2 separate regions of the Homo sapiens genome follow, and region 2 is linked to region 1. The links are contacts of gene promoters, found by promoter capture Hi-C in blood cells and fetal thymus (Javierre and others, 2016). All regions are on one chromosome and are shown on one strand. Each heading gives the region's core, a stretch centred on a gene start or on the middle of the fragment in contact. The rest is flanking DNA. Distances are from core to core; before and after follow the strand shown.

The links. The method cuts DNA at HindIII sites, captures the fragments that hold promoters and counts their contacts. A CHiCAGO score of 5 or more calls a contact.
Region 2: a contact is called between a fragment that was not itself captured here and the fragment with the promoter of PRRG3 in region 1, in 1 of 17 cell types (M2 macrophages). The highest score is 5.2, in M2 macrophages.

What each region holds. Positions count from the first base shown.
Region 1 is chrX:151,693,007-151,698,217 of GRCh38, forward strand. PRRG3 (proline rich and Gla domain 3) reads left to right here and starts at 2,452. Exons shown (of 4, transcript NM_001372163.1): 1 at 2,452-2,538. The HindIII fragment of the contact is 4,373 bases long and covers 1-3,013 here.
Region 2 is chrX:152,812,847-152,818,165 of GRCh38, forward strand. No RefSeq gene overlaps it. Among named protein-coding and RNA genes, the nearest start is that of CETN2, 15 kb to the right of the region's middle. The HindIII fragment of the contact is 6,690 bases long and covers 489-5,319 here.

The sequences.
Region 1 (5,211 bases), core at 1,202-3,701:
CAAGTCTCTAGAGAGCACCAGCTGTGGATGAGGTTCTGTGCGAGATGGTAGGGACACAGGAAGAGACAAGGTCCCTGGCCCCAAGAGAGGAGGCAAGTGTGCACGTAAGTGAGCTACCAAATGAACACAAGGTAGCTGGATGCAGGCCAGCTGATGTGCATTAAGCTCACACTTAAGCGCCAGGCACATTCTATGTGATTAGCTCCACTACCCGCTTAGCAACGCTTTGAGGCAGGCACTGTTAGCATCATTCTCATCTGAAAGGTAAGGAAACCGAGATGCAGAGAGGTCAAACACTTGCTGGAGATAATAGAGCCTACTATGTAGTACCACCAAGAGGTGCAGCAGGCACTACGCTCCAGAGGCACTGCTATTCCTCCTCCCCCACCTTGCTATCCACCGAGGCCCCCATGTTCATAGTCTCTGCAGATAGTCCTGAGAGTGGAATGGCGGACTGGGGTGCAGGAAGGATCCTGCAAGACCTCACAGTAGAGATGTCATGCGCACTGTGTGGGAAGAATGAATGCAAGTGCTCCAGGTCCACAGTGGGAGGAAAGGCATTCTGGGCAGTGGGAAGTAGAAGTAGCCTCATGTGGCTGGAGCCAGAAGCTAAAGTGGGAGTGCCAGAAGGAGGGCAGAAGCCATAGACCCTTGTGCACATACTGGAAGAGCTGCTTTTTTAACAGTCAAGTGCACAAGGGTCTATGCGGTGTTAAGATCACGATGGGAACATGCTGGTGGGCTAGGAAACTCAAGAGGTTAGTTCCAGAAGAGTCTGTGGAATTCTGCCCCACAGGCTCCGGAGGCATGGGGGGAAGGCCATAGAAGAGCTGTCGTGGGTAAGGAAGATTCCTGCAGCCGTGAAATAGCAAGCAAGCTAGGGAAGAACTCTAACAGGAGGCAGAAATGGAAGGGAAAGCACCATGCGGGGAGAGAAGTGTAGAGGCAGGCATCGGGGGAGCTAGGGGAGCCAGGCCCTGGGGGTTGGAGGGGAGGCGGCCGGTGGCAATGAAGGCCTTCGCCCACCCCTCTTCCGCCCCCTGGCAAGGCAGGTTGCTAATACCCGCCCTGGGATAGGGGTGGGAGTGGTTCTGGAACCGCCTTCTGAGACTCATTCCCATCAAAAGCAACACTTGGGGTGGAGGGAGGAAGAGGACGCCAACCCCAGTGCCTGGCCGGGTTCTAGATGTGCAGAGAACAAAAAGGAACCCTAAAAACCCAGCATCCCCTTCTCCGAGGGAGGCTTTCCTAGACCCAGAACCTCAGCCCACCCGGAACCCCTTTGCCCCTCTCTTAGCAGTGGACCTGTCATGTGGTTCCTCCTGGACTAGTGTAATCTCTGCTATGCGTCTTGTCCTGCCATGCTGAACTTCTCACAGTGCGGCCTCCGAAGGAGCCCCCATCTAGCGCTCCTTGCAGTCGCAGAAGATTCCTTCTCCCCTTACTGAGCCTTAGAGTTTTCCAAACCCATTTCCTCCTTCAAATCGCTGCAGCCTCGCGAGGGAGGCAGAATTCTCCCCATTTCTCGGACTTTGCAGGAGAGAAGCCTGCCTTCCCGGGGCAGGGTGGGGGTAGGTAAGTGAAGAAGCCAAGGTCACCCAGTCATTGGCGGAACGCGGCCTCGACTCGGTCCTTCTTCTGAGGGCCCTGTGGATCCCTGGCAAGGCAGGCCTAGGTTGCAGGCTAGCCCCCCTCTCTTTTCGTTGGCCCCAGGAGCCCGGCGGGCCTGAATGGCAGGTGAGCCCGGGGGGTGGGGACAGGACGCGGGTTGGGCTGCGCAGGGACGCCTGGCGCGCGGGCCTTGGGAGCGGCCGCCGGAGCTCCCTGCTACGCCGTATCTTCCGAGGGCCCACGCCTTGGGTCACGACTGGACCAGGGCTTTGACCAAGGGTCCTCTGTGTGCCCCAGGCCCGCCAGTCAGGCCCCGCCCCCCGGCGGCACGGGCGGGGGCAGGGGCGGCGCCGGCAGAGTGGGGCGCGGGCGCGCGGTGCTCGGTGCGCGCCGCCGCCCCTCCGGCCCGGCTTGCCCGCCCGCTCTCCCAACCCCCTCGGCCCACTCCGTCGCCCCCACCCCTCCTTCCTCCACTCGGCCAGGCGGCCGGCGGCCCGGTGCGCGGGGCAGCGCGACGATTGCGGCCTGGCGATCGGGGCACTGCGGTCGTGGCGCGCGAGGCGCGGGGCGCGAGGCCAGCCCTGGAACGGCGGGGTGTGGGGGGCGGGCAGCTGCGGAGCCCCCAGAGGAAAGCAGGGGCAGGCAGGGGGGTGCCGAGGTAATGGGCCGGGCCTGGGCGCCCGGCTGCGAGGGGCGGGGGTTCCAGGCGCACTTCGGCCCTGGAGGGGCGGGCGACAGGGTGCCCGGGGCGGTGGGAGGGCAGCGGGGAGGGGAGGAAGGGAGGGAGGAGACGGCTGGGCCGGACCGGGGGGCTTGGCCGACGGGGAGCAGGTGGGCGGGGACAGGGCCCCTGCTGGAAGAGGCGCAGCAGCGAGGTGGCGGGCTGCGTGCGCAAACAGGGCGGCCGCCTTCTGGGCCCGGAGAACGGTGAGGCCATTTGGGTTGGGTGTCCCAGTCCCGAGGGCACGGTTCGGTATCCAGGGCCAACGAGCTGGGTGCAGGGCATTGTTGAGGAGGGAAGATCTAGAGGCCTGTCCGGGCCAAGGGGATGGGGCGTATTGAACAGCTCCGGGAGAAGAGTGTTGCTGGGTCAGGGCGCTGGTGTCCAGCGAAGGTGGGCGAGGACAGGCACTTTCAGGGCTGGCCTGAGTGGAAAGGGACAAGGGGGCCCCAGAGTTTGAGTTTGAGCATAATTTGGGAGTTGTCGTGTCACTGGGTGGGTCGATGAGTCATGCGATTTGGAGAACCCTTTCCTGGCGATCAGTTCTGAGGGATGGAAATAAAGTCTAGGGTTTGGAGAAGTGGTTTGGAGGCCATGTCTTGGGACACCAGGTGCTCTGGTGGTCACCAGGCTTCATGTGAGGGACTTTGGGAGTTGTGTCCCAGAGGCCTGAGATTCAGAAGCTTCAGTCTGGGGTGGAGTTAAGCAAGGTCTTTGTGGTGGCCAGTTCCCTGCCTTCCTTCCTTTCCAGGCTGTCAGGATTCAGCTGTGTTCCTGCGGGGAGTGGGTTAAAAATTCCTTCCGCCTACAGTCAGCTTTACAGTATCCACCAGGGGCATGGGGGACATATACATGTGTGGCTGCAGCATCATTCTTTGTCGTGGAGCCCTCACGATTGCTTCCTTATTGTTGCCATAGTAACTGTCTACTGATGGTGTATTTATAGGGGAAGAAGCAGGCGCTACATTTTGGGGAGGGAGGGGGAAGAGGCCTCGTGGCAGGCAGCAGCAGCAGTGAAGGTGGCTACAGAATTGCTAATGGAGTGGGCCATGCCATGGGAACTGTTTTGGGGGTGTTCCTGGCTCGACTGAAGCTTAAAAATGAACTGGTGACTTTAGCAGGTGCGTCAGGATAACATGTATTCGGGTCTATGATAGGTGTGACATATAGCCACCTTTGACCAAGGCTAGGTGTGTGGGGGACAAAAGATGGATATATGTAATCTATTATGTAAATTTTTCTCCATTTTTTTAAAAAACCACTGCAGTTTCCTTTGATAAGCATATTTTTCTCTCTTCCCTTATTAAGACTATATGCATTCTTCTCAAACCCAGATACAACAGCTCCATTTTTCTTCAAGCAAAAAATCCTTGCCATGAGGCATACTATATCCACACCCTCACCACATAAAGCTCAGGTATCCATAATGCAAGCAGAATTTTGAGATCATATTCCATCTTGGTTCTGACAAACATTGAGGGCCAACTGTCTCACAAGGCAGGCCATCTGTTGACAAATTCACATGTTGATAGTTTTGAGGGAGATTGTTGCAGGGTTCAAAAGAGAAAGCCCCTTGATGTGGCGTTTCCACAAATAGATGTCAGATCTGCTGTTTTACCTTTAATTTTCTTTTCTTTCTTTTCTCTCTTTCTCTCTTTCTTTCTCTCTTTCTTTCTTTCTTCCTTCCTTCCTCCCTCCCCTTCCCTTCTCCTTCTTTCCTTCCTCCTTCCCTTCCCTTCTCCTTCCTTCCTTCCTTCCTCCCTCCCTCCCTTCCTTCCTCCCTCCCTCCCTCTCTCCCTCCCTCTCTCCCTCTCTCCCTCTCTTTCTCTCTTTCTCTCTTTCTTTCTTTCTGGCTTTGTAACCCAGGCTGGAGTGCAGTGGCGCAATCTCAGCTCACTTCAATCTCCGCCTCTCTGGTTCAAGCGATTCCCCTGTCTCAGCCTCCAGAGTAGCTGGGACTACAGGCATGCACCGCAGCATGCCTAACTAATTTTTGTATTTGTAGTAGAGATGGGGTTTCACCATTTTTTGGTCAAGCCAGTCCCAAACTCCTGACCTGAGGTGATCCGCCCGCCTCAGCCTCCCAAAGTGTTGGGATTATAGGCATGAGCCACCGCGACCAGCCTAAATTATTGATTTATATCCTACCTGTTTGCCAAAAGGATTAGGTGGCATATTATAAATGCACAATAGGACACTGGAAACATAAATAGAAAGCTGTATACCACATCGCAGGACAGAAGCATATGTGCTTAACAGCTGGGCTTCCAGGGTGCCTGTGCTTGACTGGCAATAGTGACGCTGAACTTCCTGGCAGCCTAGGCAAAAAGGAGGGCTCAATGGATTCCACAGTTCACGTGTCTTGCATCCAGTTAGTCATCAAACCAGAGCTTCTGCTTGGGGAGGGGAGCAGTGGGGTGATTGCTCCCAGATGTGGACAGCTCAGCAAGGGCTCTAGAATGTGTGTATGAGTGGGCGTGTGTATTGTGGGGAGGGACAGAGGGAGCAGTGTGCTGTGACCATGGTTTAAGTACTGGCTGGATAGCTCCTTAGCAGGAGAAAGGCTTTCTGACAATAGCTCACATTAGGGGCAACTCTTGTAGTTAGCGTCTCAGTGTCGGGCATCTAAATTCATGTCTTGGCACTCTACTGCCATGGGCTTTAATGCAAAGAGAGAAGAGAGGCCTGGTTCCAGAAGATTCCAGGTATCTTGCCTCTTTGTCTGGTGAAGATGAACACAGCGGGTCACCTGGGTTTGGGCCTTCTGATTATGCCTGGGAATATGAAGAATGCAGCATTGTTGTGCATGGAGGATGAGACCCTGTAGAAGATGTGTCCACTGAAGGTTGCTATAGGCTAGTCCCAGCAGGGCAGTGACT
Region 2 (5,319 bases), core at 2,584-5,083, 1.1 Mb after region 1:
CAGGCGTGGTGACATGTGACAGTAGTTTGAGCTACTCAGGAGGCTGAGGTGGGAGGATTGCTTGAGCCCAGGAGTTTGAGGCTGCAGTGAGCTAAGGTCACGCCACTGCACTCCAGGCTGGGTGACAGAGCAAGACTCCCATCTTTATTTACAAAAAGAGAAAGAAAATCCCATCTCTCTGCTGCGAGGCTTCCGTGCCATGATGAAGAGAACAAGGGCTGGGGAAGCACAGAGAAGAGTACAAATCCAGCATGGAGGAATCCTGAAAGCATCCCCTCGAGTGTGTGACAGACAGGTAAGCTAGATCTTGTAAAGAGTCTGCTGAGAGGAGACAGGGAATAAAGGGACATTGTAGACATAAGGATAAGCAAAGGCTTAGGGGTTTCCAACAGCTTAGGAGAAAGAGTTCAGAGTAAATACAGCAGAAGATGGCTCATGGGGTGCCATCTGGGGTCAGGAACAGATATGATTATATAAAAATGAAACCAAGCTTGCTGTCTGATTTAGAAGCTATTTCTGCTACCAGAACAGTCAGTGCCTGTCTAACGTTCATGTCAGGTTTTATTGCTTGTGGTCAAAGGCTGTCGCACAGTACACGGAGCAAAGAGCAGAAACTGCATGATTTTTCAGAACAACGTCCAGAATAAATATGAATCTCTGCCTTAAATGGGACATTGCAGAGCAAGTTACATAAAGAATTATCAGTCTAATAGATCACAGCACTAGTTGATCAAAATACTTAACATCAGCTTAGCACGGACGTTTAAAGCAGTCAGCATCAAAGAGATACTTAAAGTTGTAAAACCTAAATGCATGTTTCCCCTCATTGTCCCCACGTCATTTTCTCCCTCTTTAAACGCTTGTCTTACTCTATTGCATAGAATTCATCTTTTTAAGCTGTTTTAAATCCTTTCTGGAAAAATGAAAGTATACAATATACACAGATTACCACATACATAGGTGCATGCCTGTCTGTCTCAGAAACGGCCTATCATTTCACATCAATTTTTAATACCACCCCTACCATAAACCAGATTGCCATATGCACATAAGCCTGTTTCAAGACTATTTCTTCTGTTCCAATAGTCCATTTATTCGTTCCTGGTAGTATACCACACTCTTACTTACTGTATTTTCTTTCATCTAAACAATCAAACATTCTCAAGTCTTTCCCATTAAAAAAAGAAAATTCTCCCACTGCCACCCCCACATGGCCACTAGCTACCATGCTAACTCTCTTTCCACCCTTTTACGGTCACATTTCTCAAAACGTCTGCATGTGGCCCTCTGTTTCCTCAGCCACTTTTCAATCCTAAGCCACGGCAATCTTATTTCTACTCCCACCACACCACACAAACTGCTCTTGCTAAGGTCAATGAGCTTATGTTGCTAAATCCAGAGGGCAAACTCCAGCCTTCACTAGCTTCACCCAGGTGACCACTTCCTCTCCCTTTGCTTCTGTGCCCTTCCATCCTCTTGGGTTTCCTGCAGTTGCTTTCCTTATTTTCCATCCCCCTTCTTGGCCTCTCCTCCTCTTCCCACTTCTTAAACACGGAAGCTCCTAGGATTTCGGGGCTGGGTTACATTCTCTTAACAGGCTCACCACAGTTTACCTAGAAGCACTCCCCCTCATCTATGGCTTCCAACATTACCTGCAACATGGACCATGCTGCATGTTCACCAAACACGGTTTCCTTTTCCTGCTTTACATGCAGTTAGACCACATTTCCTGGAATCCCTTTTGATTATGTGCCACTAGCTTCTGACCAATGGGATGTGGGAAGAAGAGATGTTTAACACTTGCAGGTCTGGCCACTCAAACCTCACACGTGATCTTCCATGTTCTCTCTTTTCATTCATCTGCCAGCCCGGTGCCAAAAAAAAAAAAAAATGCCAGTGGAGATCTCTGAGTGCCTAGGGGCCCCTGGAACTACTGGACAAGAGGAAGCTGGATGTCTAATACCCTGAATAAAACAGAGCCCGGCCTCCACCCCAACCCACCCCCACTGACTTTGAACATGAGTGAAAAATAATCCTTTATTGAGTCAGCTCACTGAAATACAGAAATTGTTTGATGAAGCAATTAACCTGGCCCAACTAATACACTATCTCTATGCTAATGACAACCAAATATTTGCATTATGGGCCTGTTCTTCTAATTATGCATCAAATGATTGACAATGCAGCCCAAACTGATGGGACAGATAGTTTTTTTTTAATAGATTACTAGGAAGTCACAGATATTCATGCATACATTCATTCATTCAATAAATGTTTATCGAGTGCCTACAGGCACCAGATACCGTGCTAGAAACTAAGGTTGCAATGATGAGCAAAGATAAAACCAGTCCATTCACTCACAAAGTTTACTGTGAGCCTGATGACAGCTGATTCTCATGTCTCATTATATTCCAGCTGCGAGAAACTTCTGTAGCATTTGCTGCTTCATGCAAGCCCGCTACCCATAAAACTGAGGCTTCCCCTCTCTAGATCCTGGAATCCACTGTTCTCTCCTCTATGAAAGGGTGCAACTGGATATAATAGTATAACACCCCTTTCTCTTAAGTATTTTGTCAGTTTTTTATTGTAGTAAAATATATATAACACAATCTTTTTCAATGTAACAATTTGTTGCTAATTCAGTGGCATTAAATATATTTACAATGTTGTGTAACTTTTACCACTATCTATACCCCAAAATTGTCACTATCAACAAAAACTCCATGCCCATTCAACAGTAACTCCTCTTTCCCCTTCACCTGAGCCTCCAGTGACCTCTATTCTACTTTCTGTCTCTAAAATTGGCCTATTCTAGGTACCTCATATAAGTGGAATCATATAATATTTGTCCTCTGTGTCTGGTTTTTATCAGGAAGCGTAGTTTTTAATAGTACATCCACGTTATAGCATGTATGAGAGTTTCATCCCTTTTCGTGGCTCAATAATATTCCATTGTATGGCTAGACCATATCTTGTTTATCCACTCATCTGTTGGGATGCACTTGGGTTTCTACTTTTGGCTATAATGAATAATGTTGCTATGAACATTGGTGTATAAATATCTTTTCAAGTCCCTGTTTTCAATTCTTTTGCATCTATATCTTGAAGTGTGATTGCTAGGTCATATCATAATTCTATGCTTAACCGTCTGAGGAACTGCCACACTGTTTCCCAAGGTGGCTGCACCATTTTACATTCCCATCAGCAATAAATCCAGGTTCCAGTTATTCCACATACTTGCCAACACTTGTTATTTTCCTTATTTTTTTATTATAGCCGTCCTAGCGTGTCCTAGCATGTGTGAAGCTGTATCTAAGAACAGTTTTAAGTATAAATGTTATATATGAATACAATTTTGTTCTGACAAATTCAAACCCAGAATAGAATTTAAAAATCCACTTCACTGTAGCCACGTCCAACCTCCTTCCCCTCTCCAGAGAAAATCACTGTTAAAAATTTGGTATGCATCTTTCCTGATCTTGTTCTCTGCATTTGTGTTCTTTTTTTTTCATATATGGATTTTTTTTTATGGCAGAATTTTTATATATTTATAAATCAGTTGGGAAAAGGTAAACTATTCAATAAGTGATGCTGGAACAAATGAGTCTCCATATGGGTTCAGAAGGAAAATTTTGCCACCCACCAAAAAATTAAGATGAAATAGACACGAAACATGGAAAACAAAACTATAAAACTTACAGAAGAAAACACAGGAAAATATCTTCATTATACGTGGGCAAACACAGATTTCTTTTTTTTTAAATTTTATTTTTCCATAAGTTATTGGGGTGCAGGTGGTATTTGGTTACATGAGTAAGTTCTTTAGTGGAGATTTGTGAGAACCTGGTGGACCCATCACCCAAGCAGTATACGCTGCACCATATTTGTTGTCTTTTATCCCTTGACCCCCCTCCCACTCATCCCCCCAAGTCCCCAAAGTCCATTGTATCATTCTGCTTTTTGTTTTGTGTTGTTTTGCATTTGTATTCTTATGTGTGCGTGAATGCAAGATTATGCGTAATGGAAACATAGCCATTCTGTCACTGTCAGTTTTCTTCCTTCTTTCCAACTGTTCCACTGTTGTTGTTGTTTTTTTCTGTTAGAGAAGTTCCACTTCGAAAATTTTGCCCTTTAGCTTGTACTGCTGGTTATAACGTGGTCTTTGATTTCCAGGAAGAGTATGCTGTGTTGGCTGAAGTCACTAGCAGAAGAACTTTGGTGTCTGCCTCATGTAGAATGCATTGCCTAGGTCGTCTCAGGCCTGATCTGAGCTGAACTTCTCCTATCACATATGCCAACAACTCTTTATGCTTCTCTCTTTCTCTGAAATTACCTTCTTTTGTCTGGAAAAAAAAGGAATGAGGAAGATTTTTCACCCCTTCAGAGAAAACAACTATCCAACAGGACGAACGTGGGAAACAGCCAGTGTTTGGTGAGAGATCGCCCTCTGCTGCCTGTGTTAATCAGGGTTCTCCAGAGCAGCAGCCAATAGGAAAGATAGATACATTTGTAAGGAGTAACATAATACATATAAATATACATATTTAAACATATATATTTAGATTATAAATATAAATCTATGTCTATATTATATATAAATATATACAAGTTGGTTATAAGGAACTGACTAACACTGTTATGGAGGCTGGCAAGTTTCCAGATCTGCAGGGTGAGTTGGCAAGCTGGAGATCCAGGAGAGCTGATAATGTAGTTCCAGTCAGAGTTCGAAGGCCTGAGACCCAGGAGAGCTGATGACATAGTTCCAGTCCAAAGCCCAGCAGGCTCAAGACTCAAGAGAAGCCGATGCTGCAGTTTGAGTCCAAAGGCAGGAAAAAGCCAATGTCCCAGTTTGAAGGCCTTCAAGCAGGAGGGATTCTCTCTTACTTGGGGGAGAGTTGGCCTTTTTTTTCTATTCAGGCCTTTAACTACCTGGATGAGGCCCACCCACATAATGGGTGGCAATCTTTACCCAGTCTCCTAACTCAAATGCTAATCTCATCCAGAAACACCCTCACAGACACACCGGGAATGACGTCTGACCAAATGTCTGGGCACTCCGTGGCCCAGTCCAGTTGACACATAAAATTAACCATCACACTAGCCATATGGGCCTTTTAGGGAGCCTGAACCCATAGCAGGAAGCTCTGGTGCCTTGAGCAATTGTCCGGATGGGCATTATAGGCAGTTAAAATTCTAAGCAAGAAAGATTAAGAAAAAAACAAAAGCGTGTAGGCCAAACTGGAGAGAAAGAGAGTGCAGTGGCAATGCTATTCGGGTTTCTTTCCTGCTCAGAACCCCGTGATGACTCCTCATCCCCCA